Linked DNA regions of Homo sapiens: region 2 is linked to region 1. The links are contacts of gene promoters, found by promoter capture Hi-C in blood cells and fetal thymus (Javierre and others, 2016). All regions are on one chromosome and are shown on one strand. The core of a region is centred on a gene start or on the middle of the fragment in contact, and the rest is flanking DNA. Distances in the headings are between cores, read along the strand shown.

The links. Contacts are between HindIII fragments. The CHiCAGO score rates a contact against its expected background, and 5 or more counts as called.
Region 2: a contact is called between a fragment that was not itself captured here and the fragment with the promoter of PPP3CB in region 1, in 1 of 17 cell types (fetal thymus). The highest score is 5.0, in fetal thymus.

The regions. Positions count from the first base shown.
Region 1 is chr10:73,491,410-73,497,718 of GRCh38, reverse strand. It overlaps PPP3CB (protein phosphatase 3 catalytic subunit beta), which reads left to right and starts at 1,695. Exons shown (of 14, transcript NM_021132.4): 1 at 1,695-1,914. The coding sequence starts at 1,830. It overlaps PPP3CB-AS1 (PPP3CB antisense RNA 1), which reads right to left and starts at 1,967. Exons shown (of 5, transcript NR_132104.1): 1 at 1,902-1,967; 2 at 1,236-1,577. USP54 (ubiquitin specific peptidase 54) reads left to right here. Exons shown (of 24, transcript NM_001391956.1): 24 at 1-181. RefSeq lists enhancers at 1,489-1,678, 2,169-2,628 and a silencer at 1,759-2,108. The HindIII fragment of the contact is 5,148 bases long and covers 1-2,785 here.
Region 2 is chr10:75,112,683-75,118,991 of GRCh38, reverse strand. All of the region lies in intron 1 of SAMD8 (sterile alpha motif domain containing 8), which reads right to left. Among named protein-coding and RNA genes, the nearest start is that of SAMD8, 4.2 kb to the right of the region's middle. The HindIII fragment of the contact is 1,565 bases long and covers 2,572-4,136 here.

The sequences.
Region 1 (6,309 bases), core at 446-2,945:
CTTTTGAACAGATGGAGTCAGGCACACTAACACAGCCTTCTGTCCTCAATAACACAGCCATTATTGCCACTTGCTCAGTCGTCAATGTAAACCCTCAGAGTCAGCTGAACTATTTTAGGCCAAACATACTGTTTTTGTAAAGTATTTTTCATTAATAAATCTATAAGACAGTTCTATTTAATTCCTTGTCATTCTTCCCTTTGTATGCTCTTGCTTTCTTTGTATTGGGGCTGGAAGTCTGGATAAATATATGAAGTGGCTTTTGACTGAGTGGAAGTGAGGAGCCAGAGACGAGTTGAAGGATATACAATCAAGGTGGGAATCAATGGGTCCTAAAATAGGGTGCCTTTCCTTTCTAGTATTGCTGCTAGGATGTTTCCCATCCCTTTCCTGACAGAGCATTCAGTACTCAGTACATTATACACTTCCTTCCTCCCCTCCTTAGGAAGATTTTCTGGGGATTCAAGCTCTTCTTACAGACTCACTCCTGATCAATGTACTCCAGGTGCCTTCCCTCTATCTTATAAGTTTGTGACGTGCCTCCTGTCCCTTCCTTCCTCTCCTTCCGTGGGGGCCTCTCCCTTTCCCTTCCCCTGTGGTGTTATGGCCCTTCCATGCCAGAAAGATCCATTTTCACCTGTGCCTCACTCCCGAGACTCTTCCCTCTAAAAAATAGCTTGTGGGTTCCCTTTTTGGAAAAAATCCATTGTTGGGTCTTTCCCTTCCTCTTTTCCTGGGGTCTCAGGATAGAAATTGACACAAAGAAGAGGTAGAAAGGTACTCCTTGGACCTTCGGACTACTACTTACTTACCACCATGCATTATGAACAGATTCTGAGCACATGTATTATTGAGCAGGAGGATGGGCAGGAATTGGTTGTTCCATCCCACTTGGATCCTGCACCATCAAGATATATAGAGCTTAGTGGATATGCTGGTCCCTGTCCATGATTCAACATATCTCCTGGTGTCGTGGACACACTCATCTAATAATTTTTGATGAACAGTCAGTTCTTGCCCCTCTACCCCCTTTCCCATGAGTGTCAGTCACCGTGGTCTCTATAAAGGTTCCATAAGTCACCTGGGCCCAGATTCTGTGCATGTGCAGAAATAAGGAATTAATTTCCAATTCCCTATTTACTCCTCTGCCTTCCAGGAGGAGGTTGTATCCTTTTCAGGTGAATTCTTCAGATTCTTTGCACATCTCTTGGTGTCATCCCCTTTATTCCCCTTACCTGTTTTGACAAACTATGGCGCCTAAATTGCTCTAGCTGCAGTCTTATTCTGTGCTTTCAGACTCTTGACAATTCCAGACTCTAAACACAAAGGCCAGAATTCTCTTTCAAACTCCATTTTGGATGGTCCCTTCTCCACTCTAGAACCTACAATGCTTCCTCTATTCTCTGGTCCCCTACCAACCCTTCAGTATTCAGATCTGGTAGCTAAATCGTTATACATTTCTCTATTAGTAGGAGATCCTGAGGTTTAATCACGTCTTCTCAGTTTACTGGGAATGCCATGAGAGCGGGTGTGTTTCCTCGCAGTCGTTCGATCGCAGCACCTCCTCATTCTTCATTCTGCATGCAAAGAATTTTAACCTGATCCCTTGGCCTCGTCCTGTTTCTCTCCTAGCTTCAGTAATTTTGCCCAAGTCCCTAGAGCCTACCCCGCCCCCACCCCCGCACGCGCAGTGCATGCCGGTCTTAGCCCCTCTGTAGGGAAAGAGGGTCCGCCATGTTCCCCGGCGGCGCCGCCGCTTGGCTCTGGTAGCCGCCGCCCCCGCCCCCAACCCCGCCCGGCCCAGAGCCTAGCCGAGCCCCGGGCCCAGCATGGCCGCCCCGGAGCCGGCCCGGGCTGCACCGCCCCCACCCCCGCCCCCGCCGCCCCCTCCCGGGGCTGACCGCGTCGTCAAAGGTGAGAGGTGGACGAAACCCTGGGGGCCTGGCCTGAAGAGCTAGCTGTGTGTGAGGGCGGGCGGGAGACCGTCCCCTCGGGAGTGGGCCCGGAAGGGCGGGCGAGTGACTGGCTGCCTCCCTTGGGGAGTGGCCCCTGGGCGGGCCCCTGCTGGGCAGGGCTGAGTCGGTGGCAGTGGTTCCGCGGTCTCCCGGTTGCTTTCAGGCCGGGGCGGAGGTTTTGCTTCCGTGGCTTCCTAGCCCAAGGGGTGAGGCTGTTAGCTGCAGTGAGCCCGTTTTCTCTTCACTCGGCCTGTCAAAGCGGCGCAGGGGCCGCGATTAGCTTCCTGCCCCGCGACAGCTGCACTTCTGGCTTGCCGGGGCGAACCGAGGGGCTCGGAGACCTTCAGCCACGCGAGGCCCGCCAGTGAGCAGTCAGAAATCACCTCGGCTTTGGCCCACGCCTGCTCCCCGGTGACAGTCGTCCGCCCTATCCGCGTCTAGCTGGCGACAACCGCAGGGGTTCACTTTTGGCCGTCAGGTGCCACCCGGAGCAGAAATTAGGGGAACCTTGTGGGATTGGATCACGGTGAAGGGTCGGGGCAGGAATTGGAAGGCCAGCCTTTATAGTGCAGAAAGGGAGAAAAAGCAGCATAAACGAAAAAAAAAATTCTTGTGGATAGCAAGTATTTACTTAGAAAACCATCAACACTTTGGTCAAAAGGAGTTACCCCTCCCTTACAAACACACACCCACACATTCATCCTAGACGAAAAAGTTAAATGTTTCTCAGCCAGGGCAGAATTTATGGATGTTTACCCACAACAGGTCAGCAGATTAATTTAAAATAGAGAAATTGAGGGCTAATTGAGAGTTGCTTAAGATTCCAAGCTTCCTGGGAGAGCCTACCAACCTCAAACACTGCTGTGGAGGTGAAAAACAATTGAAATGATTCTCTTTACCATGTAGCTTGATTGATAAATTGAAATCGTAGAATGAACTTTTCCTTATTTGTATTGTATTTATTTTTAAAATATAGGTACTTTTGTTTTCATTCAGCTTCTCAAATACACTGGCACAGTATTTAAACACCGTTAGCCTACTTTTTGAAATCTGACTCATATGTTTCCATTAAAATATTTAAAAACAAGGAAACCTTTTTTCTTTTTTTTTTTTAATTAAAAATTTTCAACCTGAGCCTTCTTCGGTTCTTAAAAGAATAATACTAATTTGGCCTGGCGTGGTGGCTCACATCTGTAATCCCAGCACTTTCGGATGCTGAGGCAGGCGGATCGCTTGAACTCAGGAGTTGGAGACCAGCCTGGGCAACATGGCGAAACCTTTTCTCTACCAAAAATACAAAAAATAAAAATTAGCCGGGCATGGTGGCGCGCCCCTGTAGTCCCAGCGGATCGGGAGGCTGAGGCACGAGAATCACTGGAGCCCGAGAGGCAGAAGTTGCAGTGAGCCGAGATTTGCGCCAGTGTGCTCCAACCTGGACGACAGAGCCAGACCCTGTCTCCAAAAACAAAAACAAAAACAAAAACAAAACACTGATTTGCACCTAGGCTTAAGTTAGTAGTATATCCAGTTGGGCCAGGCATTGGAATGAGCTGAATAACGAGTTTATGGAATCCTTAATACAGAGAAATCTTAAAAAAAAAATAGTAATGCAGACATTCATTCTATCAAGAAATCCTGGAGTTTTGTGGGGGTGGGAACGGGACATTGGCTACCTCTTCATTTTCTGACTGTATTTCTGTGTTGTGTGTTCATTTCCCTGGGCACTTTTCACCAGACTGTTAGATGGGGTAACCAATCACATTCCTGAACAATGAGTTTATGCTATCCTTACGTTTGTGAATCTTCTTATTCCTTGTCATATATATGGTAATGTTTTTTCTGTACTGCTTTAATGCAGTGAAAATAAGATTCCAAACATAAGGCAGATTCCTTAGGGGTGAGTTGTGAGTCCAAGGCAGTCATATTTGCAGGTTATTGGTGTGGAATAAAAGCCATTTGATTTAGATAAATAGGAAAGGAGCTTGTTAATATAGAAAATTATAGTTAAATAAAGCTTATGGTTATCATATTTCTGGTGCTTCATTGTGCCCTCTTCATAGAGACAACTTTCATTTCTTTATGGAATTTGTTAACCAGTTGGAATTCCTGTATGGATTATATGTTTTAAAATGGTGTGTAACAGACTAATTTGCACTGCTCATGGAGTCTCCTGCATTTACTGGGAAATTCACCTTTCTTACAGATCCAGAAATTCACTTTTAAATTTCATCTTCAGGATTCTTCCTTGTCTTTTATTCAGTAATTATACTATAATGTGATACCTGATATTAGAGAATACTGGTTGCCTGATGATAAATGATGTGAGTTCAGCTTAAGTTTAACTTGTTAAAATCCAAATTTCTTTTAAGTCCACAATGTGGTGGTAGTTTTGTATCGATACATTTTCATAGTAGTGATATTATGGAGACTGTCTGTTGGCATTGAATGCAAGTAGTCTTTTTCTCCCTGGAATTTTTTTTTTTTTTTTGAGACGGAGTTTCACTCTTGTTGCCCAAGTGGAGTGCAGTGGCGCGATCTCTACTCACTGCAACCTCTGCCTCCTGGGTTCAAGCGATTCTCCTGCCTCAGCCTCCCGAGTAGCTGGGATTATAGGTGCGCGCCACCATGCCCGGTTAATTTTTTGTATTTTTTAGCAGAGACGGGGTTTCACCATGTTGGCCAGGCTGGTCTCAAACTCCTGACCTCATGATCCTCCCACCGTGGCCTCCCAAAGTGTTGGGATTACAGGCGTGAGCCACCGCGCCCGGCCTGCCTCCCTGGAACTTCTTAGTGTCAAAATTTTATACTCCATGCTTGTAGTCATAAGGCCTACATTTTATGGTCATGTAGGTTTTTAAGGGTGTATAGGTCTTTCTGTGTTTAAGATCAGATACCTGAAATTCACTTTTTGTGAAGTTTGGGAGCTTGGAATACTGTAGGTGATTCATGAGTAAATGTGATGAGCTTGTCACTAAAATTATTAGTGGTAATTCCATGTCATTGATTATGGGTCATTAGGTTTTTGGTTGATTAAATTCAGTTCTGAGCCTACTCCAGCTGCTGGCTCAAGTCAAATTCTTCCCCTGTTTGAAAGTTGATCTAACCCACCTGATTAAGCAAGATGGTATATACCCTTTTAATTATATTCTATTAAGCATTCTTTAGCTATGTAGGAAATAAGAAAGTGGAAAAAAATTAGGAAAAATATCTAACCGTATCTGCATGTGTGCTTTCTTACCACATCAGCAAAGCTGGTATAGGTAATTGAAGCACAAAATCCTGAATTTATATATATTGCTTTCCCTCCTCCCCACAAAGTTTACTTGACCTGAATTGCCCAGATACCTCCTTTTTTCCCCAGATACTTAAAAAATGTACGTTTTGCTTTGTATACCAGGTTCTAGATTTGTAAAGCTGGATTGTCTCTTGAGATTATCAAGACTGTTAGTATTAATAAAAAATTCACCTTTTTACTTAGAGAGCATTGTCAGTATTGGGCATATGTTCATTTTAGCACCTACAATGTGAGTCATTTTCTTAACATTATTTTATTTCATGGGTTATAGTAACCTCAAATTATCAGACTTTCAGATTGAACCAAAATGCTGAATTTATGTGTTTTAATTTTTTTTAAGCTAAAGTATTTCTGATTGACAACGTTAGAATTCATTTGGATTCTGTTGCCAGTTGCCCTGCTTATAAATCTGAAGTCATTTGGCTAAAGTGTTTTCTAGTAGCTTTCCTTTAGGAGGATTACTTTTTGTTTATTTATTTATTTATTTATTTATTTATTTTTGAGATGGAGTTTCGCTCTTCTTGCCTAGACTGGAGTGCAATGGCGCAATCTCGGCTCACTGCAACCTCCACCTCCCGGGTTCAAACGATTCTCCTGCCTCAACCTCCCAAGTAGCTGGGATTACAGGCATGTGCCACCACGCCCGGCTAATTTTGTATTTTTAGTAGAGACGACATTTCTCCATGTTGGTCAGGCTGGTCTCGATCTCCTGACCTCAGGTGATCCACCCACCCTGGCCTCCCAAAATGCTGGGATTATAGGCATGAGCCACCGTGCCTAGCCAGATTACTTATTTTCAGATAACCCATATAGCCTTGGTGTGACATAGCTACTTCAGTGTTTCTTGCTAGTTCTATTTCATTATATTTTAAAGCAGCTTGAATTTTAATTTTTGTTTACAAAGTCTATTTTGTGGACTTATCTGTGTAAAAAGAACTAGAAATTATTTTTCTTTTACTTTCCACTCTCATTACTGTTAACCATACTAAAATAAATCTTCAGGCCAGGCGCAGCAGTGGTTCATGCCTGTAATCCCAGCACTTTGGGAGGCCGAGGCGG
Region 2 (6,309 bases), core at 2,105-4,604, 1.6 Mb before region 1:
ATTATAGATGCACTGAAGCTGAAATACAGCTAAATCAAATACATTTAGCTTATCTAATATCCACATAATAAAGACTACATGTTTGCAGATCCATAAACCAGAACATAAAAACAATTCTTATGAAAGCAAAAAGCCTAAACTATGATGTAGGAGGATAAGGTTTAATTTGGGCATATATGGCTAAACTTTGTGATTAATAACTCTGTAGTTTATAGTATTTGGGATTATCCAACTTTTTTCCATACTATTTTAAAATTTTTACCATAAATGAAAACATTTTCATTCAGCAAACAAAAACTACTCTTTTCTCTTTATACTTATAGAAAGATATTTTTCTTTTTCTTTTTTGAGACGGAGTCTTGCTCTGTCGCCCAGGCTGGAATGCAGCGGCGTGATCTCAGCCCACTGCAGCCTCTGCCTCCCAGGTTCAAACAATTCTCCTGCCTCTGCCTCCCAAGTAGCTGGGACTATAGGGGCACACCACCACACCTGGCTAATTTTTATATTTTTAGTAGAGACAGCATTTCACCATGCTGGCCAGGCTGGTCTCGAACTCTGATCTCAAGTGATCTGCCTGCCTCACCCTCCCAAAGTGCTGGGATTACAGGCGCAAGCCACTGTGCCCAGCCTATTTTGCATTTTCTTAGCAAGCACAGGGTATTGTTTCCAAAACATCGATAAAATCTGCAATAATTACAAAACAGTTTCAAAGACCTTGCACTAACTCCTACCATCCATTTTGAAACTCTTTAGTGGTGATTTTCTGTTTTGTTATGTCCCACTTCTGAGCAGTAGAATTTAGGGCAGCATCTTTAAAAGAATTAAATTCCCTCCTCAGTTACATCATCATTCTCTTGGCTGCACTTCAGTTCTTGGACTTTTTTGCTGCTCTAACCGTGAACTCTTATAATTTCACTCAAAAAAAGTTGTCATATATACCAAATAACATCTTTTTCTGGTTCCAAATAGCCTTTAAACTAACTTCTACTATCAGGCTGCACCAAGTTATCTACACCAAATCCAGAACTGTCTCCCCTCAATGAGTAAGAATCTGACAGATATTACCGTCCATTTTATATTCTCAGTTATACCAAAAATTTTTCCACGATGATAGGACTTTGGTGATAAATTTGGTAAAGGGTTCCTGACCTGGCTGCAATGCCACAGCAAACCAGTAAAGAAGCTAAGTATCTAAAATTCTAATTTTTATTCTAACCAGGCTAGCAGTTTAACATATCAATTTGGTAAAATCTTTTTTGTTTGTTTGTTTGTTTGAGAAAGCATTTCACTCTTGTAGCCCAGGCTGGAGTATAATGGCGCAATCTCGGCTCACTGCAACCTCTGCCTCCTGGGATCAAGCAATTCTCCTGCCTCAGCCTCCCAAGCAGCTGGGATTACAGGTACGTGCCACCACGCCCAGCTAATTTTTTTGTACTTTTAGCAGAGAAAAGGTTTCACCATGTTGGCCAGGGTGGTCTTGAACTCCTGACCTCAAGTAAGCCACCCACCTTGGCCTCCCAAAGTGCTAGGATTACAGGTGTGAGCCATCACGCCCACCCTTTTTTTTTTTTAAGATAGGGCCTCACTCTTTACCCAGGCTGGAGTGCAGTGGCGCAATCACAGCTTACTGCAGCTTTGACCTCCTGGGCTCAGGTGATCCTCCCACCTCAGCCTCCTGAGTTCTGGGACTATAGGTGCACACCACCACACCCGGCTAATTTTTGTATTTTTAGTAGAGACGAGGTCTCACTATGTTGCTCAGGCTGGTCTCAAACTCCTGGGCTCAAGGGATCCACCCACCTCAGCTTCCCAAAGTGCTGGGATTACATGCATGAGTCACCCCACCCAGCTGGTAAAATCTTTATTTTTAAATATGCTACACTGGCAGGCTGCGGTGGTTCACGCCTGTAAACCCAACTTTGGGAGGCCAAGGGGGGTGGATGCCTTGAGCCGAGGAGTTCAAAACCAGCCTGAGCAACATAGTGAGACCTCGTCTCTACTAAAAACACAAAAAATTAGCCGAGCATGGTGGCACGCGCCTGTAATCCCAGCTACTGGGGAGGCTGAGGTGGGAGAATTGCTTGAACCCGGGAGGCGAAGGTTGCTATGAACTGACATCACGCCACTGCACCAGGCTTCGGCAACGAAGTGAGACTCTGTCTCTAAATAAATAAATAAATATGCTACATCCAAAATCTAATCAATATAATGGAAAATGAGAAACTGGCTCAAGACTTCAAACTCCATTAAATATTGTGAAAATGGATTGGATTTGCAGCCAAATTTTAATGTATGGTTTTGGAAATCTCTGGCTTTCATGCTAATATTATATTGATGGAACTGACATCAATTCCATTTAATCTCAAAGTTCCAAACTAAAACAGATTTGCAAGTATTTCCAAAAACTCAGTGACACCAGTTAACCTATAGGAAGGCCCTAAATTAGCAGAATCCATGGTTCTCACCTCCAACTAGAATTTATCTGTCAAAAATTTCAAGACAACAGAACAAGTATCAAGATAACAGATACTCATGTTACTACCTCTTGTCCTCTGCCACAACTCATAAGCTTAACTAAATGCACTTCAAAAATTTAAGACACTCACACCTGTAATCCTAGCACTTTGGGAGGCTGAGGTGGGAGGACTGCTCGAGGCCAGGAGCTCTAAACCAGCCTGGTCAACATAGCTGATACCCCATCTCTACAAAAGAAAAATTTAAAAAAATTAGCCAGGTGTGGTGGCACACGCCTATAGTCCCAGCTACTCAGAAAGCTGAGGCAGGAGGACTGCTTGAGCCCAGGAGTTCAAGGCTGCATAAGCCATGATCGCGCCACTGTATTCCAGCCTGGGAGACAGTGAGACCCTATCTTTAAAAAAAAAAAACTACCAAAAAATACTTAGACAAATATAAATATAATTCACTGCCCTGCCCCACAACACTCTTTTCTGAGGTACATATCATAAAACATTGTTTTATGGTGAAACACTGTGGTGAAACTATTATAACCAAGTTTTTCTTAGTTAATAGTCTTTTTTTTTTTTTTTTTTTGAGACGGAGTCTCGCTCTGTTGCCCAGGCTGGAGTGCAGTGGTGTGATCTCCGCTCACTGCAAGCTCCGCCTCTCGGGTTCATGCCATTCTCCTGCCTCAGCCTCCTGAGTAGCTGGGACTACAGGCGCCTGCCACGAGGCCCGGCTAATTTTTTTGTATTTTTAGTAGAGACGGGGTTTCACCGTGTTCGCCAGGATGGTCTCGATCTCCTGGCCTCGTGATCCGCCCGCCTCGGCCTCCCAAAGTGCTGAGATTACAGGCGTGAGCCACCGTGCCCGCAGTATGTTACATTCTATAGTATTGTGAGGACCCAATAACAGAACATTTCAATACGGAAACATGAAGTCACTGAACTCAGCTAAAGGTTAGGCTTCAGATCTGTGATGATGGTACTGTGTGTATGGGAGGAGGGGGTTCAGGAATATTCACATCACAGGTCTGTTACAAATCCATACCCACACATTCATATGGCAAATTACCAGGAAGCAACAGCGGTAGCATGTAAACACCAATCTGTTTTCCCAGTGTGCCTGGCCCATGCTCTCCTATTTTTAGTTAACATCTTGATTTCTCAAGGCCAAGAAAACCACAAGACCTAAAGTAAGCATCACTGTCCTGATGATATCTGTTGTCAAATGGCTTTCTCTGTTCTTGCCCTACTATTAACCCCTCAATGTGTTACATCATACCCTTAGAGCAAAACAAAAACAAGAACAAAAACTGGTTCCAAAAGAATTCCCAAAATCACATGTAAGCAAGTATTAAAGATACGGCATTTTGCAAATAAGTAACTCTTTATTTGTAAACAAATATAAATACATGAGACGTGAAAATAATCAAGGCTCTCCCCTGTCATCTCTGCAAATAAGTAAAACATTTAATCTAATCTGGGAATGAAATAGTATAGTCCTCCTCTATAACCTAAATCCCTTAAAAGAATTTTGATTAGCTCATACTGTATTTTTTCACCAAATACCACAATCATTCAAAAGAGCTTCATAGGTAATTTAGCAGAATATGCAATTGTATTCATATCTCGTATAAATCAGTTTGATGTCCAAAGAGAATCAAAGCTACAGAAGCTTTAAAATTAAAAAGTGAATTCAATCTTAGTTCATTAACAATCCACTGGCATATGAAAAATGAAGGGGGTAGAATCTGAAGACAGGAAAGATTTCCATCCATAAATTAACGGGCATGCTAGGTACACCCAACAATTAACACCATATATTACATCAGGCCTGGAAGTAAAAATCTTGAAAGAATAGCTTGTTAACATGGCATTCTTATAAAACAATAATAATACTATTCATGGAAACATCTGTGATTTAAGTTTCTCAAAAAAAGTGTTCAAATTTCAATTCTTAGAAAAGCCATGAAAATGTCTTAATCAGTAACAGCAAAGTTTTGAAGAAGTATTGAGGATCTAATGATTAACAAAATAAAAAAATGTTTATAAGCAACTGTGCAATGTGAATAAGCTTTTGCAGAAGGGGGGTTATGGTACTGAAATCAAAACTGATTTACCTAAATATGTCTGCATATTCTGCCATCGCAGTCATGATGGCTTCTTCTGCCTTAGAGAAACCGATTTTTTTTTTTTTTTTGAGACATATCACTCTGTTGCCCAGGCTGGAGTGCAGTGGTGTGATCTCAGCTCACAACCTCTGCTTCCCGGGTTCAAGAGATTCTCCTGCCTCAGCCTCCTGAGTAGCTGGGATTACAGGTGTGAGCCACCACACCTGATTAATTCTTTTTATAGTATTAGTAGAGATGGGGTTTTGCCATGTTGGCCAAGCTGGTCTTGAACTCCTGACCTCAAGTGATCTGCCTGCTTCGGCCTCCTAAAGTGGTGGGATTACAGGAGTAAGCCACCACACCTAGCCAAAAACTGATTTTCTTTATTCAATGGGTGTGAGAACTGACAAAGGGAAACAAAAATTAAAAAACTATTAGACATGCTAATATGTTAATTGTACAACTCCATCTAACAGTTTCTCTTTAATTTTGCAATAACATTAAGCTGTAATCTTAATAGAGTTCTTATATTGCAGTTCAGCAAATTTTTACATGCCATGACTTTTATTCACAACTAAGTATGAAGATAAGGTCTCCAGAGGATCTCACTCTAAAGATAAAACCAACAAACAGTAATATTACATAAACTTCAACTGAAGATAATTTGTATTAAGTTAAAGAAAAGGGAATTAATACTTTAACAATCTCAGCATTTTTAGCTAAGAATTCACATATCCTTTGAAGAAACAATTACTATTCCACTGTGCATCTGAGGGTATGTCACATAGCCCATACACATAAACTAATTTAAAAGCTGTTGCAAATCAAATTATCATCTCATGAAGATTAAACAGTAGATATCCATTTAGATTTAATCAAGCATTTAGAAAACGCTTGATGCTAACAAAAATTAGCCAGCCATGGTGGCGCCCACCTGCAGTCCCAGCTACTCCCAGCTACTTGGGAGGCTGAGGTGGGAGGATCACTTAAGCCTGGGCAACACAGCGAATCTCTGTCTCAAAAAAAAAAAAGAAAGGAAAGAAAAGAAAAGAAGGAAGAGAAAAGAAATGGCCAACAACTTTACAAACCTATAATCACATAAAAAGTTGTAAAACATATGAGACATGTGGCTAAAGTCAAAGACTTCATGGAACCATGTTATGACTTAACAATCACAAAAGGAAGTCAATTTATCTCTACTAAAGTGAATATAAATATTGCAATCATTCTTTTTCTGGCATAATTATGTTTTGGAACTATGTCTTCTATAAAAAGCATCTGTATACCCACCTGTCCCAGTTGTGTTGGCTGCCAACTACAAGCATCCTCTGTCCTTATTTTTCCAAATCACTCTACTAAAAATACTATTCACACAATACCTGCAAAATAGTATTTCAATATTGGTTTTGCCAATCAGTCAAAGGTACCTCTCCAATTTTCAAGAGATAAGTCCAATCCTGGGGTTATCAGTGAGAGGAAGATTTGGTATTGCGCCTAGACTGTGGCAAGTTCACTGTGCCCCCTTCACCCAGAAACTTGCATTGACCATACATTTACTATGTGGCAAATACATGTGTCAACTTAAAACTTTGAAAGTGGAACCAGTCCATGTTGAGTATCTGTAAAATCCAAGTGTCCAAATTCTTGTTTCAAGTTTAATTTTTAAAATCTGAGTATCCAAAGTCTTGTTTCAAGTTTTTAAAACTTAAAGGTAATATAGTAAATTTTTAGGATCTTAA